Regions from separate parts of the Homo sapiens genome. Here regions 1, 2, 4 and 5 are each linked to region 3. The links are contacts of gene promoters, found by promoter capture Hi-C in blood cells and fetal thymus (Javierre and others, 2016). All regions are on one chromosome and are shown on one strand. The core of a region is centred on a gene start or on the middle of the fragment in contact, and the rest is flanking DNA. Distances in the headings are between cores, read along the strand shown. Region 1 has its middle 2.3 kb from the start of TMEM181. Region 2 overlaps DYNLT1 (dynein light chain Tctex-type 1). Region 3 holds the start of TAGAP (T cell activation RhoGTPase activating protein). Region 4 overlaps SYTL3 (synaptotagmin like 3). Region 5 overlaps SYTL3 (synaptotagmin like 3).

The links. The method cuts DNA at HindIII sites, captures the fragments that hold promoters and counts their contacts. A CHiCAGO score of 5 or more calls a contact.
Region 1: a fragment that was not itself captured here is called in contact with the fragment with the promoter of TAGAP in region 3 in 2 of 17 cell types (neutrophils and non-activated CD4 T cells); the score reaches 5.9 in neutrophils.
Region 2: a fragment that was not itself captured here is called in contact with the fragment with the promoter of TAGAP in region 3 in 6 of 17 cell types (total CD8 T cells, non-activated CD4 T cells, neutrophils and 3 more); the score reaches 8.1 in total CD8 T cells.
Region 4: a fragment that was not itself captured here is called in contact with the fragment with the promoter of TAGAP in region 3 in 7 of 17 cell types (naive B cells, M2 macrophages, fetal thymus and 4 more); the score reaches 6.2 in naive B cells.
Region 5: a contact is called between a fragment that was not itself captured here and the fragment with the promoter of TAGAP in region 3, in 9 of 17 cell types (neutrophils, naive CD8 T cells, naive CD4 T cells and 6 more). The highest score is 11.2, in neutrophils.

Annotation. Positions count from the first base shown.
Region 1 is chr6:158,556,414-158,559,113 of GRCh38, forward strand. It overlaps a transcript of TMEM181 not described here. Among named protein-coding and RNA genes, the nearest start is that of TMEM181, 2.3 kb to the right of the region's middle. The HindIII fragment of the contact is 3,429 bases long and covers 1-2,700 here.
Region 2 is chr6:158,635,399-158,638,098 of GRCh38, forward strand. DYNLT1 (dynein light chain Tctex-type 1) reads right to left here. Exons shown (of 5, transcript NM_006519.4): 3 at 2,373-2,496; 4 at 1,730-1,807; 5 at 1,076-1,499. The coding sequence ends at 1,429. It overlaps TMEM181 (transmembrane protein 181), which reads left to right. Exons shown (of 17, transcript NM_001376852.1): 17 at 1-31. Among named protein-coding and RNA genes, the nearest start is that of DYNLT1, 8.0 kb to the right of the region's middle. The HindIII fragment of the contact is 4,116 bases long and covers 1-2,700 here.
Region 3 is chr6:159,043,615-159,046,335 of GRCh38, forward strand. It overlaps TAGAP (T cell activation RhoGTPase activating protein), which reads right to left and starts at 1,377. Exons shown (of 10, transcript NM_054114.5): 1 at 1,265-1,377; 2 at 506-590; 3 at 364-417; 4 at 1-41. The coding sequence starts at 532. The HindIII fragment of the contact is 8,846 bases long and covers 1,130-2,721 here.
Region 4 is chr6:158,703,725-158,706,424 of GRCh38, forward strand. All of the region lies in intron 6 of SYTL3 (synaptotagmin like 3), which reads left to right. Among named protein-coding and RNA genes, the nearest start is that of SYTL3, 55 kb to the left of the region's middle. RefSeq lists an enhancer at 1,126-1,175. The HindIII fragment of the contact is 2,954 bases long and covers 1-2,700 here.
Region 5 is chr6:158,685,976-158,688,675 of GRCh38, forward strand. The region is part of intron 6 of SYTL3 (synaptotagmin like 3); the gene reads left to right. Among named protein-coding and RNA genes, the nearest start is that of SYTL3, 37 kb to the left of the region's middle. RefSeq lists a silencer at 1,068-1,268. The HindIII fragment of the contact is 8,716 bases long and covers 1-2,700 here.

The DNA of each region.
Region 1 (2,700 bases), core at 5-2,504, 490 kb before region 3:
TGATATTTATCCAGGAATAGGGCATTGCAATGGGAATATATGTGCCATAGTGAACTATGTGCCTTTTCAGGGAGGTATAGAAAGATGAAGGTTTTTAAAGGAACAATGGGGAGGATTACATAATTGTTTTGAGTTAATTATTCTTGGCTACAAGGATCACTCACAAGGGGGATGCCAGTCTCGCGTTGGACAGGCAGTTACTGGGCAGATGTCCTCGCAAAAGTGTAAGATTGCGATGGTCTTTGTGCAAGGTTATGGTTTTTATAGTCTTTTGTTATGGTTTTTGTTATCAAGCATTTATGCACGAGAATCCTCTTCATGGTGTTCTCTGGCTCTATTTGTCAGGATTGTTTTTGGTATTTTTTTTGAGATGGAGTCTCGCTCTGTTGCCCAGGCTAGAGTGCAGTGACGCCATCTTGGCTCACTGTAACCTCTGCCTCCTGGGTTCAAGTGATTCTCTTGCCTCAGCCTCATGACTAGCTGGGATTACAGGCACCTGCCACCACACTCAGGTAATTTTTGTATTTTGTTGGCCAAGCTGGTCTCAAACTCCTGAGCTCAAGTGATCCGTGCTCTTCAGCCTCCCAAAGTGCTGGGATTATAGGCATGAGCCACTGCACCTGGCCTGTTTTTAATACAAGTGACTCCATTTTAATTCTGACAACTTTCACAGTAGCTTATCTCCAAAGGCGGTGCACCTCCTAGGATCCCAGCACTTTGGGAGGCTGAGGCAGGCAGACTGCTTGAGCCCAGGAGTTCAAGACCAGCCTGGACAACATAGTGAAACCTTGTCTCTACAAAAAATACAAAATTAGCTGGTTGTGTTAGTGCACACCTGTAGTCTCAGCTACATGGGAGACTGAGGCCGGAGGATCTTTTGAGTGGGAGGCAGAGGCTGCAGTGAGCCGAGATTGCGCCACTGCATTCTAGCCTGGGTGACAGGGAGACTCTGTCTCAAAAACAAACAGGTCATGTGAGAAATGGCTGATAGATCACACCAGGCTTCTTAGAGCCCAGAATAGTTTGGGTCCCTTTCCCCTTTTCATAACATGATCATAGCACCTTTCATTTCCTTTTCTATCACAGCTGTAATTATTTATTTATTTATTTATTTATTTATTTGAGACAGAGTCTTGCTCTGTTGCTCAGGCTGGAGTGCAGTGGCGTGATCTTGGCTCACTGCAAGCTCCACCCCCTGGGTTTAAGCAATTCTCCTGCTTCAGCCTCCCAAGTACCTGGGATTACAGGCACCCGCCATCACGCCCAGCTAATTTTTGTATTTTTAGTAGAGATGGATTTCGCCATATTGGCCAAGATGGTCTTGAACTCCTGAGCTCAGGTGATCCCCGCCTCACCTTCCCAAAGTGCTGGGATTATAGGCGTGAGCCACCATGCCCATGCCCGGTCAATTAAGTAATTATTTAGGTTATTGTTTGTTCTTGACTAGAAAAGGACAGGGACCTCATCTGTCTATTCGTGTTGTGTTTCCAGAGCTGAGAGTTGTTCCTGGCACACACACACTGCTCCATTAATGTTTGAAGAACAAATAAATGAGAAAACGAGTATGACGGGAGAAGAGGAGCTGAGGGCCATGTGGTTGTTCACATCCTTGAAGGAGTGTTGGGAGAGGGCTCATGCTGACCTGGGTGACGCTGGACAGCAAATCCAGGGAGATCTGACAGGAAGGAATTGCCAGGAGGTAGTTTGGAGTCAAATGCACACAGTGAGGGCCAGGGGTCCTCGGGGTGGTGACAGTTTCCTCTCGCTGGAGATGCCTCAGGAGAGACCAGGCAGCTGGCACAGAGCAGGGATTTCCACATCATCTCATGCTGCTCTGGGCTGGAGGTAGATACTGGCTGCCTCTAGGCAAATGTGGCCAGCAAATGTGCTTTGTTTAGTCCCTCCCAGGGTTTAAGATATTTTTTCGAATTAGTTTCCAACATTTTAGAATCAGAAGTGTCGAAAGACAAAATGACAGCAAATTTAAAGATCCTAAGTAGCTTTTCTTCATGATTCTAGAATCGGGCAGCCCTCAGAACCAACAGGTTCAAAGGACTTTGGGGCTGCAACGTGGTTAGACAACATTTATGGACAGAAAGTGGAACTGAGGCGCAGAGACAGCTTAACTGGTTACAGGTTTATGTTCTAGCTTATTTGAATCAGCTAACCACCTGCCAATGACAGAAGCTCACTGGCTGTGATTGGCTGAGACTCAGCTGTTTGTTACAAAAGCATCCTCCTCAATTAGGGTGTCTTCTCTTTTATGTTAACTATGCCAGGCTGCAGCTCCTTATGTAAGGACTCAAGTAGGGAGGCATCCTCAGGCCTAAACATTTAACAGAAGGTGTTGCATGAAAACGCATGTTTGGGCTGGTTGCGGTGGCTCACGTCTGTAATTTAACAGGCTCCGGGGTTGGGGACCCCTGCTCTAGCTCATAGAACTCCCTCCGACTCACCCCTTCCCGCGCCCCACGTCCCTGTGAACAGTCTGTCCCTGCAGGTACCCAGTTTCTGTTCTCCGGTCTTGTTGCTATGAAGAACCCTTTCCCTCTGCTTATGTATGAAAAGAACTTAAGAAATAATCTTTTGTTATTCCTTGAAGAGTTGCGGTTTAGGATTCAGAGCACTAATGAGATTTTGTGTAACTATTCCTTGGTGTCCTGGCTTAGGGTGTGCTTTGCTTGGTATCTCCCCCTTTTA
Region 2 (2,700 bases), core at 143-2,642, 410 kb before region 3:
CTGGGAAATGTTAATAAATTTTTAATATTCACTTCTATGTGTCTTGATTTGTTTGCTCTTTGTGTGTGGAGTTAATTTGGCCTTGCAGACATAAATGCTTTAATAAAGCGGCTTTGGAGACAACGGCAGGGCTTTTCCATTTCAGCAGGCAGGCACGGAGGTATCTTTATTGCCATGTCTAATGTGGCCTGGGGAAGAGCACTCAAGATGGAGACAAGGCGTGGGTTTGGGCCCAGCTCCCAACTTGGATGTGTGACTTTAAACCAATCAGATAACCTCCAAACACATTTTCTGAGATTTTTAAATGACTGCAAATTGTTGAAGACACAGAATGAATGATTGTGAAAACCATTTTGTAAGCTCTGAAGTACTAAGACAATTTGTGAGCCCTACAGAGAACACAGGATTAACAGTTAAGGTGTTACAGCTTTGGGCCAAGTGTGAGTTAGAGCTCTCTGGCTAAGAGAATAGAAATTGGTTTGCCCACCTCCCACCCCTTCACCTCTAGAAGAGGAGGGCTTAAGAATGGGAGGTGTGATGCCGAGGGGTAGGAATCTAACCAGAACCCAGCAGAGCCGTCAGGATCCTGGTCCCACGGGTAAAATGAGTACATCATGGAGAGGACCACAGCAGAACTTTTTTTTTTTTGGTTGTATATATATATATATATATTTTTTTTTTTTTTTTTTTTTTTTTTTTTTGAGGCGGACTCTTGCTCTTGTCACCCAGGCTGGAGTGCAGTGGCGGGAACTTGGCTCACGATCTTGGCTCACTACAACCTCTGCCTCCTGGGTTCATGCCACTCTCCTGCCTCAGCCTCCCGAGTAGCTGGGACTACAGGCGCCCGCCACCACACCTGGCTAATTTTTGGTATTTTTAGTAGAGACGGGGTTTCACCGTGTTAGACAGGATGGTCTTGATCTCCTGACCTCATGATCCGCCTGCCTCAGCCTCCCAAAGTGGTGGGATTACAGGTGTGAGCCACTGCGCCTGGTCTGGTTGTATAGATTCTGTAGCCACTCACTATGAAGAAATCGTTTATGATACTATGCAGACTATGAAGAACACAACAGACTTTAGATTTGAATAATTTATTCTAACAAAAGTATAAAGTATGGAAAATTAGTGTATTTGAATCATTTCAGAGAGTAGAGCAAGTTTCACACTAGCAGATTTCAGATTTTAGCACCTTTGAAATGAAATATTCAGAGTTAAGACAAGTGGCAACGCAGGCTGCAGGTGACCTACAGGGATACTCATCTGACTTCGGTGCCATTCACATCACAGTGCGGTCATTTGGTTTTTTCCTCTACATTGTGAAAGTGCCACAAAACAAAGAGAATGAGAAAAGAGTTCACTGAATTCATGGCTGGTGGTTAGAGGATGAACTAGAGACAAAAGGAGAAAGGCCATAGGCTGGACTGCAGGTCAAATAGACAGTCCGAAGGCACTGACGATGCAGTACATGGTCTTATTCTCCCATCGCACAGTGCAGCTCCCTGCGGGAGGGAAGAGAGCAGCATTTACGGCAGGGAAAGCTGGGGGACGACGTTTTACTCACAATAAGGCCAACATTCAAGTACCCATCTCTATGCTACACAAAGAACCTTGGCAAGTCTATTATTAAATGTTTTAAAAGGTGATAAACATGCATTGCATTCAAAGATAGGAAACTTCCAGTCATATATTTCACACAACAAAACTTCACAAACATGAATGAAAATCATACCGTCAGTAGAGCTGTCCCAGAAGCAGGAACTTGCTGTGTGTAATCCAGCTCCATTCTTCTGCATAATTACACAGGTCACTTAAGTTAAAACAAATTTTTGTTAGAGAAGTCTACTGGGTAACACAAATGTCATTCTGTCCACTTTTAGCAAACGTACAATGTATGTAGCTCCACGTGGTTGATGTTCTCGATAAAAATTATAGGGACAGATTGCCTTGTCTCACTATATTGACAAATTATAGGTGCTCCTTGACTTACAACATCCCATAAACCCATCATAAATCAACAATATATGAAAATGTAAGTTGCAAATGCACTTAATACCCTGGTAAATCCATCAAAGTTGAAAAATTCTAAGTTGAGCCACTGTCAGCTGGGGGCTGTCCACACTTCCTCTATGCTTCACTTGTTCTAAAAGCATCTGATGGGACCTCCTGTAAGATCCCGCTTCACATACGATCTGCAATTGTACCAGCAGCCAAATGGTCAAGCGTACGCTAACGTATACTACACACACGACCGACTCCCACCAGGAGCCTTCCTTGAGTTGAGCCACGTTAGCTGTTGTTTCTGGTACTGGATGCCCCTCTGATCAGTGTTAAAAAACCATCCCGCAAATATAAAAGAAACAAGACTCCATTACCGATGTATTTAAATGGTTTTCCCAGCTTGGTGAGTTGGCTTAAAGTTTGTTCTACTACATTTGTGGTCCACTGGTTCACTTTGCTGTGTTGATAAGCGTTACCACCAATTGCGCTTTCTATAGCCTAGAAAACAAAGCACAAAGCGCGTCCCGGTTAACCAAATGCACCCACACCACCTTTCAATCAGGAACTGACGGCACCCCAAGAAGTGATTTATGAAAAGTTTATTTTTAATCATGAGGGTGCCTTTGCAAATATACTTTTAATAGCATTATATTTCATTTAAATAAGTTTGAAATTTGCTTCAAAAATTCATAGTCTGTCAAA
Region 3 (2,721 bases), core at 127-2,626:
CTCTCACATGATGCCAACAGGGGATGTTCCTTGATATCACCCTAAAAACATTTTTATTTCAGTTAAATATAGTGACTGAAGAAACCTATCGAGTCTTTCCCCACAAAACACACATACAGCATTTTATTCATATTAAAAATGAAGTCAGTAGAGTGCATTGATGTTTTTTCTAGCTTCTAGAAGCAATATTAAGGTCTTGATTGTCATCATATAAGATCCTAATTAATGTGCTTAATTTACTACATGTGTGATGTTAGTTTACTACTCTTATAATTACTATTCAACCCAAATAATATTCAATTAAAACAAAGTTTTCCACCTTCTCACAGTACAGATAAAAAGTCTTAAAAATTGCTTTCTTACCTCTGATTGACATTCGATTAGTGTCTCCATATTATTGGCGTTTAGTGTTTTTGACTAAAAGAGAAAAAATAAAATTAGGTAAATATCTTTTGGCCCTTGCCTGTAGGAAACGTGAATGAATGAATGTGAGAGGGGCACTCACAGCATTGTGGCTGCTTCTCAGCTTCATCAGTATTGCGGCTGACTGTCCAGGGGTGGATTTCACTCCCGTGTGGCTGTGCCTCTGTCTACAACGAATCACATGGAAAGGAGTTAGGAGGGACTCACACAGTAGGCCACTTTCAGCGCCACTTTGCCAAAGCACAGAGTTTGAAACTATTTATTTATTTTTCTCTTTTGCTATTTTTTCACTTGCCTTTACTTTGGAAAAAACTATTACATAGACAAGTTTTCATTTAAAATCAGTTCTGTTACCAGATGTTGTATGTTGTTAAGAGCAGCATCTGAACACAATTATTTCTAAATTATTTAAGTCAACTATCTTTACCACTCTAAACGTTGTTACCAATTTATTCCGTTCCATCAAGAGATAATCTGGATATCAATTACGTTAACATTTTAAATTAACATGAACATTAACTTTTTTGGTGGAGTGCTGACTATATGCCAGCTGTCGTAGTAGGTGCTTTGCATGGATTTTCTCATCTAATCCAAAAAGGAAAAAAAAAAAAACATATCCCTAGGATGCTAAAATAGTAAACATGAAACAAAGATAACATTTACAGAACTCCTACACCAAAAAGGTGCAGCCTTCACGTTGAAGCAAAGCTTTGTCCTGAGACTTTATAAAGTGAGAGCATATTCCACGGGATAGCTGTTTTCTGTTGCCTGTGATCTGAGTGACCTGTGACTTGCGAGGCAGCTTGTAATTTCTAGGCATGTTAATATATAGTGTACTTACCCTTGGAGGGTCTCTAGCCAGAGTTCTTTTACATCCGGTGAGCTGTAAAGAATGGGAGAAACAGCATAACTCTCTGCTCCTTCTAGTCCACTGGGAGAGAGAGAGACCGAGCCGGTCTCCCTTCACATGCTCTGCATTATAAGCGAAGGGGCGGGCAGGTGGAAATTCAGAATATTACAGAGACCGGAAAGAACATCATGGGCTGTCACACGGACGGAGCCAGCCAGACACTGGAGAGCTCTCGCTTCCTCATTCCTTTTAGGGCAGCTATGTCTTTTTTTTTTTTTTTTTTTTTTTTTTTTTTTGTGTCTTCCACTTCAAAGTAAAAAATCTGTAAACTACTAGGAGTGGAAAACATGACATTCAGCCCATAGGTGAAGGCTCTGATTAATGTCATAGGTGGGATGTGTGAACAAGAAATTGTGTTATTCTGTGCATAAACATCACTTTATTTTCTAAAGTGGTAATTTCAAGTGCCTCTTTTTGCATCCTGTTTGGGTGCTCTTTCCCCTCCCACGTGCCATCTGCTCTGTCCACCAGCACCACACGTTGATTAGCACCCCTGGATGTGGGACACTGTTACAGAACCAGAAAGAAACCCAAGACAGTCCCTTCCTTGAGGAACAATCACCGTCCAAAGCCAGGTTAGTTTCCTTTGGAAGTAGAAAGAAAACTCCCTCGAGTCAGTTGTCAATATAGTAACCCCCTCCTCCTTTCTGTAACTCCTGGTCAAAAGTATTGATACTTAATTTACAGTCAGAGCAGCTGTCGTTCTGACACGGAAGGAAAACAAACAAAAAAATTCCTTTGATCAGACCAACTTAAAGTAGGAAAGAGATGGTGAATTTCATTTGTGGATCACTCTTCTGCATAAGAGAATTTCTGATCTTTTCTGTAGATCAAGGGCTATATATGAAACCACTCAAATGCCTCGACACGAGAATGGATGCATAAATTGTGATCCATTCACATAGGGAATGAATGTTGTATAGCACTGATAATGAACAGCCTATGACTATAGCCAACAATATGGTTGGATCTCATAATATGACGCTGAGCAAAAGAAGCCAGACGTGAAAGTGTATATCCTGCCGGCTCCCATTAATGCAAAGCACAAAATTAGCAAAAGTCGTCTGTGCTGTTGGAAGCAAGAGTAGCAGTTTCCCAGAGGGGATGGTAATGACTTCCAGGGGCCAGCGGGGGGCTTGGTGATGGTCCATTCTTGATCTGGGTGGTGCTAGGCTTATGTGCACACTTCCCTATTTATGTAATTTTTCAATAAAAAGTTTTAAAATAACTTGGCTTCATTTATCATCAGCATCTTTAATTTTAAGACTTTTCCGCATTGTCAGTTCTTTTGTCATTTTACTGAAAGGAGGTGATTATGGGGCAGACTTTGGGAAACCGAAGCACAGAGAGGTCGAAATTTGCTCTGTAACTTAGCGGCTCGGTGGGGA
Region 4 (2,700 bases), core at 9-2,508, 340 kb before region 3:
AACTGGGGCAGTGAGGCAGGGGGCAGAGTGGGACCTGCGGGTCCCCCTGCATGCTTTCATATGTCCTGTGAACTAAGAGTGGGTTTTATATTATTATCATTATTATTATTATTATTATTATTATTATTATTTTGAGATGGAGTCTCATTCTATCTCCCAGGCTGGAGTGCAGTGGTGTAATCTGGGCTCACTGCAACCTTTGCCTCTTGAGTTCAGCCTCCCGAGTAGCTGCGATTACAAGCGTGTGACCTCATGCCCGGCTAGGCTAATCTTTGTATTTTTAGTAGAGACGAGGTTTCATCATGTTGGCCAGGCTAGTCTCGAACTTCTGGCCTCAAGTGATCCGCCTGCCTCAGCCTCCCAAAGTGCTGGGATTACAGATGTGAGCCACCACACCTGGCCGGGTTTTACATTTTTAAATGGTTAAAAAAAAAAACAAAAGAATAATCTTTGTGACACATTCAAATTTCAGTGCCCATGAAGTTTCGTGGGAACGGGCACGCCTGCCCTTTATTACTGTCTGTGGCTGCTGTCATAGGGCGGAATTGAGCAGCTGTGACGGGCCCCTCCCTGGGGCCAGCACAGTGCAACGTTCCCTCTCCAGCCTTGACCCAGGCCCCGCCTGTGCCCCGCGTCGCTGCAGCCGGCAGGGGGCAGCAGAAAGCCACGCGCACGCCCGGTCCGTGCAGGAGCCGCAGCGGGGACGCGGGGGATTTGCGACCCGGGCCGAAGCGGAGGTTTCCTAGCTGGGGTCTGAGATGTGGACCTGAGGCAGAACTGCCCGTGGGGGATAGCAGGAGGAGACGAGGTGGGGGTGACAGTAATCGTGCAGGCAGGGCCGGCCTCACCGGGTAGGCAGGGCAATAAGGGACAATTGGTTTGCTGGAGTGAAAGGGCAAGGCCTGCAGGCGGAGGGGTGACCCCGCAGGGTGGGGCACCCCGGAAGCCACGTGGGCCTGGACTTCAGACCACGCCATAGGGAGTCACTGAAGGGTTCCAGGTGGTAGTGTGATAGCCTCAGATTCTCTAAGAGGGATGTGGCTTTTTGGTGACTGTGCCTCAGGATACTGTTGCCACAACCAGGGACAGAGTGACAGTGAGGGCTGTAAGGCCACATAGGGCAGGAGGGACCCAGGGCAGGGTGACAGTGAGGGCTGTAAGGCCACATAGGGCAGGAGGGACCCAGGGCAGGGTGACAGTGAGGGCTGTAAGGCCACATAGGGCAGGAGGGACCCAGGGCAGGGTGACAGTGAGGGCTGTAAGGCCACATAGGGCAGGAGGGACCCGGGGCAGGGTGACAGTGAGGGCTGTAAGGCCACATAGGGCAGGAGGGACCCGGGGCAGGGTGACAGTGAGGGCTATAAGGCCACATAGGGCAGGAGGGACCTGGGGACAGGGTGACAGTGAGGGCTGTAAGGCCACATAGGGCAGGAGGGACCCAGGGCAGGGTGACAGTGAGGGCTGTAAGGCCACATAGGGCAGGAGGGACCTGGGGACAGGGTGACAGTGAGGGCTGTAAGGCCACATAGGGCAGGAGGGACCTGGGGACAGGGTGACAGTGAGGGCTGTAAGGCCACATAGGGCAGGAGGGACCTGGGGACAGGGTGACAGTGAGGGCTGTAAGGCCACATAGGGCAGGAGGGACCCGGGGCAGGGTGACAGTGAGGGCTGTAAGGCCACGTAGGACAGGAGGAACCCGGGGCAGGGTAACACTGAGGGCCGTAAGGTCACATAGGGCAGGAGGGACCTGGGGACAGGGTGACAGGGCTATAAGGCCACGTAGGACAGGAAGAACCCGGGGCAGGGTAACACTGAGGGCTGTAAGGTCACATAGAGCAGCGGGGGGGGACCTGGGGGCAGGGTAACAGTGAGATCTGGAAAGTCACATAGAGCAGGAGGGACTCGGGGCAGGGTGACAGTGAGGGCTGTAAGGTCACATAGACCTGGGGACAGGGTGACAGTGAGGGCTGTAAGGTCACATAGACCTGGGGACAGGGTGATAGGTGAGGGCTGTAAGGCCACGTAGGGCATGGGGGACCCAGGAACAGGGTGACAGTGATGGCTGTAAGGCCACATAGGGCAGGGGGATCCAGAGACAGGAGCACCCTGTGGTATATTGCCGCCCGCAGACTGCTGTGCACCAGCTGTCTCCCAGGTCTGTGCTCGCCCCAGGATGGGCAGGATGAGCAGCGTGGCTGTTTTTCTCTTGCTTCCATGGCCAGCACACTGCAGTCAGGCTGTTTTTTGCTTGGACCTGGATGTTTTCTCTCAGGGGGCTCCTGCAGGTGCTAGCTTTGGTCCCTGACCAGCTGGTCCTACTAGTTGAGTGCCCGGGCTTCAGGCAAGACTGTGTTGTACCTTTTCATTCTGTCTTAGGGAAGTATTTCTTAATGGGGAGGGGAAGGGTCACAGGTGCCTTATAGAATCCTGTGAAAGCCAGATGTCCCCCAGATGAACCCCAGAAAATGCACACAGGCAGGTGGACTCGGAACTTTAGCCATGATTTCAAAGACTCCTGCACTCGCTATGGCCAGCCTGGCTAAGGACCCTGATCTAGGGGCTGCCTTCTTCCTTTGAGGCTTGGGGCTTGGTGTTGAGAGCTTAACATCACATGCTATTTGCCCTCCCAAAGGCCAGCCCATCTGATTTTCTTACTGTCCGTGTCCTTCAGTGGGTCTTATGGAAGTGATGTTTCCATAT
Region 5 (2,700 bases), core at 32-2,531, 360 kb before region 3:
GACATCTGCTTCACTCAAAAAGTTTTCTACGTCGTTAGAAGTTCTAGCATCATTATTTCAGGTAAGTAGTTTTCATGTGTGCATGAATGTATGTGTGTGTGTTTGTGCACACACGTTACCATCTTGTCATCTTTTCAGCACTTCATGTCTCCTGAGTGAGTGGGAGAAGTATGTTATCAAGGTGACTTAAGATAAAAAGGGAATTAGGAAAGAGGTGAGACTGATGTCTTAGGGTTTTCTTTCTTGCCTTATAACTTTAAGAATAAAAACTTCAGTAAGGACAAACAAACCAGGGTCAGGAAGATCAACCTCAGCATAAATCATTCTTTTTTGCTGATGTCGTTTCTATCAATGTATAAAATAAACACCAGAAAAGCCCTAACTTTCCCTCCTTCTCTACAATGCTTCCTCAAATGCCAGGGTGCCTCATTTTCCCATTGTCCTGTTTCAGTAGAGTTGGGGTAAGAGGCATGGAACTATGGGGGAAAATGCCAGGTTAGGAGCACACAAGTAGTGCTATGAGCCAGACCAGGTTGGGTGGAGTTTGCAGCGGGTGCGTCAGGAAAGGTAACAAGGATCAGGTGACAGAGGTTTAGGTGGACAGGCAGGAATTCCACCACGCTCCTATTTGTGGCCCTAAAAGAGAACCAGGTGCAGTCATTGAGGAGTTGAATTGAATTTGTGCTGCAGCAGTTAAGATCCACTTAGGGAAATAGAAACTGTCTGGTTATTTGAATAAGAATTTACTTTAGGGATTGGTTAGACAGGAATTGGAGGCAAAAAGGGAATAGTGAGAGAACAGAGCTAGCAGCTGCAGGAGGCAGACACCCTCCGACCCTGTTGAGCTGATGCTGGCCAGACACAGGTCGGAAGGAAGGCATGAGCCCCTTCTCCCTCCTCCTGGCCCTGGTCTCCCTCTGGAAGCCCCCACTGGACCCTAATAGGGAGGCAACTGCAACCTCAATTCTCTGATGTGTTCCGGAAAAAGTGGTTTTGCATGTTCTCTAGTGTTTTTGTTGTCATGGTACCGGCAATACTCTTTCCAGCCCTCTATATCCTGAGCAGAAGTTAGAAAAACTAGATGGTGGTTTAAACCACAAAAGTGTACAGACAGCTCCAGTCTGTGCCTCTTTCCACGCACTGGTTATCTATTGCTGTATAGCAAATTCCCCTCAAACCTAGTGACATAAATCAAGTAACATTCTTTGACAGTTTCTGTCTTCAGTGGAAGGCTCGCCTGGGGCTGGGGGATCTGTGCTCTTGGGGCTTACCCTCATACCTGGCCAGTGACTGCTGGTATTGGGAGGAGGACTTGGTTCCTCACCATGGGGATATCTCCACAGGGCTGCTTGAGTGTCCTCATGACATGGCGGCTGGCTTCTCCCAGGGCAAGTGATCCAAGAGAGAGAAAAGCAGAGCCCACAATATCTTTTATGGTCTAGCTTCAGAAGCCACACCCTGTCATTTCTGCTATGCCCTATGGGTCCCACAGGTCAGCCCTAGTCAGAGAGGACAAAGGGTCTGAATATCAGGAAGCAAGAATCACTGGGACCGTCTGTGTGCTACCAAATCCTGTGTTCCTTGTCTTGGGAGAATGGCGACACCTCTCACTCTGTCTCCAAATCCACAGACCTGAGAATCAAACTTGACTCCTTTGTTCCTCATTCTGCCGCTACATCTGGTCAGTCAGCAAATCCTGACATTTCTGCCTCCTGAGTCTCTGGAATCTTCCTCTGCCCTTCATTCTCACTTCCAACGTAGCAGCTCCTAACTGCTTCCCCCTTGGTCCATCTTCTATTCTGTGAAGAGAGGGAGCTTCCTTTTCTCTTTGAAAGGAAGTTACTTACTTTCTGATTACAGAAGTAATGCAAACCTTGCAAGCATTTGGGAAACACAGAATAGTATTTAGATGTAATGGAAATACTACCACAATCCCAAACTACTGTAAATTACATGCACGTGTACACACCTGCACACTCCCAGCCTTCTTTCTAGGTAAGCCTGTGTATATGTGTGTGCACAGATAGACTTATCCAATTTCAAATGTATTGTGATCAGACTCTATGTGGTTTTATTTTGCTTTTACAATTCAACTTGGCATAAACATTTTCCTATGTTATTAAGACTTCTTCCAAAATGTATTGATGACTCCATAAAATACACCAAATATATGCACTATAGTTTATTTAACCTGTTCCCGAGTGTCTGTGAGTATATCACTGTATTTGATTTTTCATGTTATAGATAACTCTGTGATGAACGTCTTGTACAGGTATTTTGACATGTCTGTTTATTTTTGGGGGGTAAATTCTTAGAAGAATGATTGGTCAAGTGTATGAATACTTGAAAGGCTTTTGATGTTTTGCCAAATTACCCTCTGGGAGTGTGTGCTTATTTACAACAGGCTGGCAGGGTACACAAATTTCCTTCTTCCCACACTCTGGCCCCCATTACATTCTGAGCTTTGAAGCATGATTTCAAATTACATTCACGTAAAAAACTAGACGCCAGGCTCAGTGGCTCATGCCTGTAATCCCAGCATTTTGGGAGGTCAAAGCAGGAGGATCGCTTGAGCCCAGGAGTTCAAGACTAGCCTGGGCAGCATAGTGAGATCCTGTCTCTAAAAAAATTAAATGAAATTAAAAAATTAAAACCTAGAAAATGAAGAAAATCATAAAGAGCAATGTTAAAAATACAGCA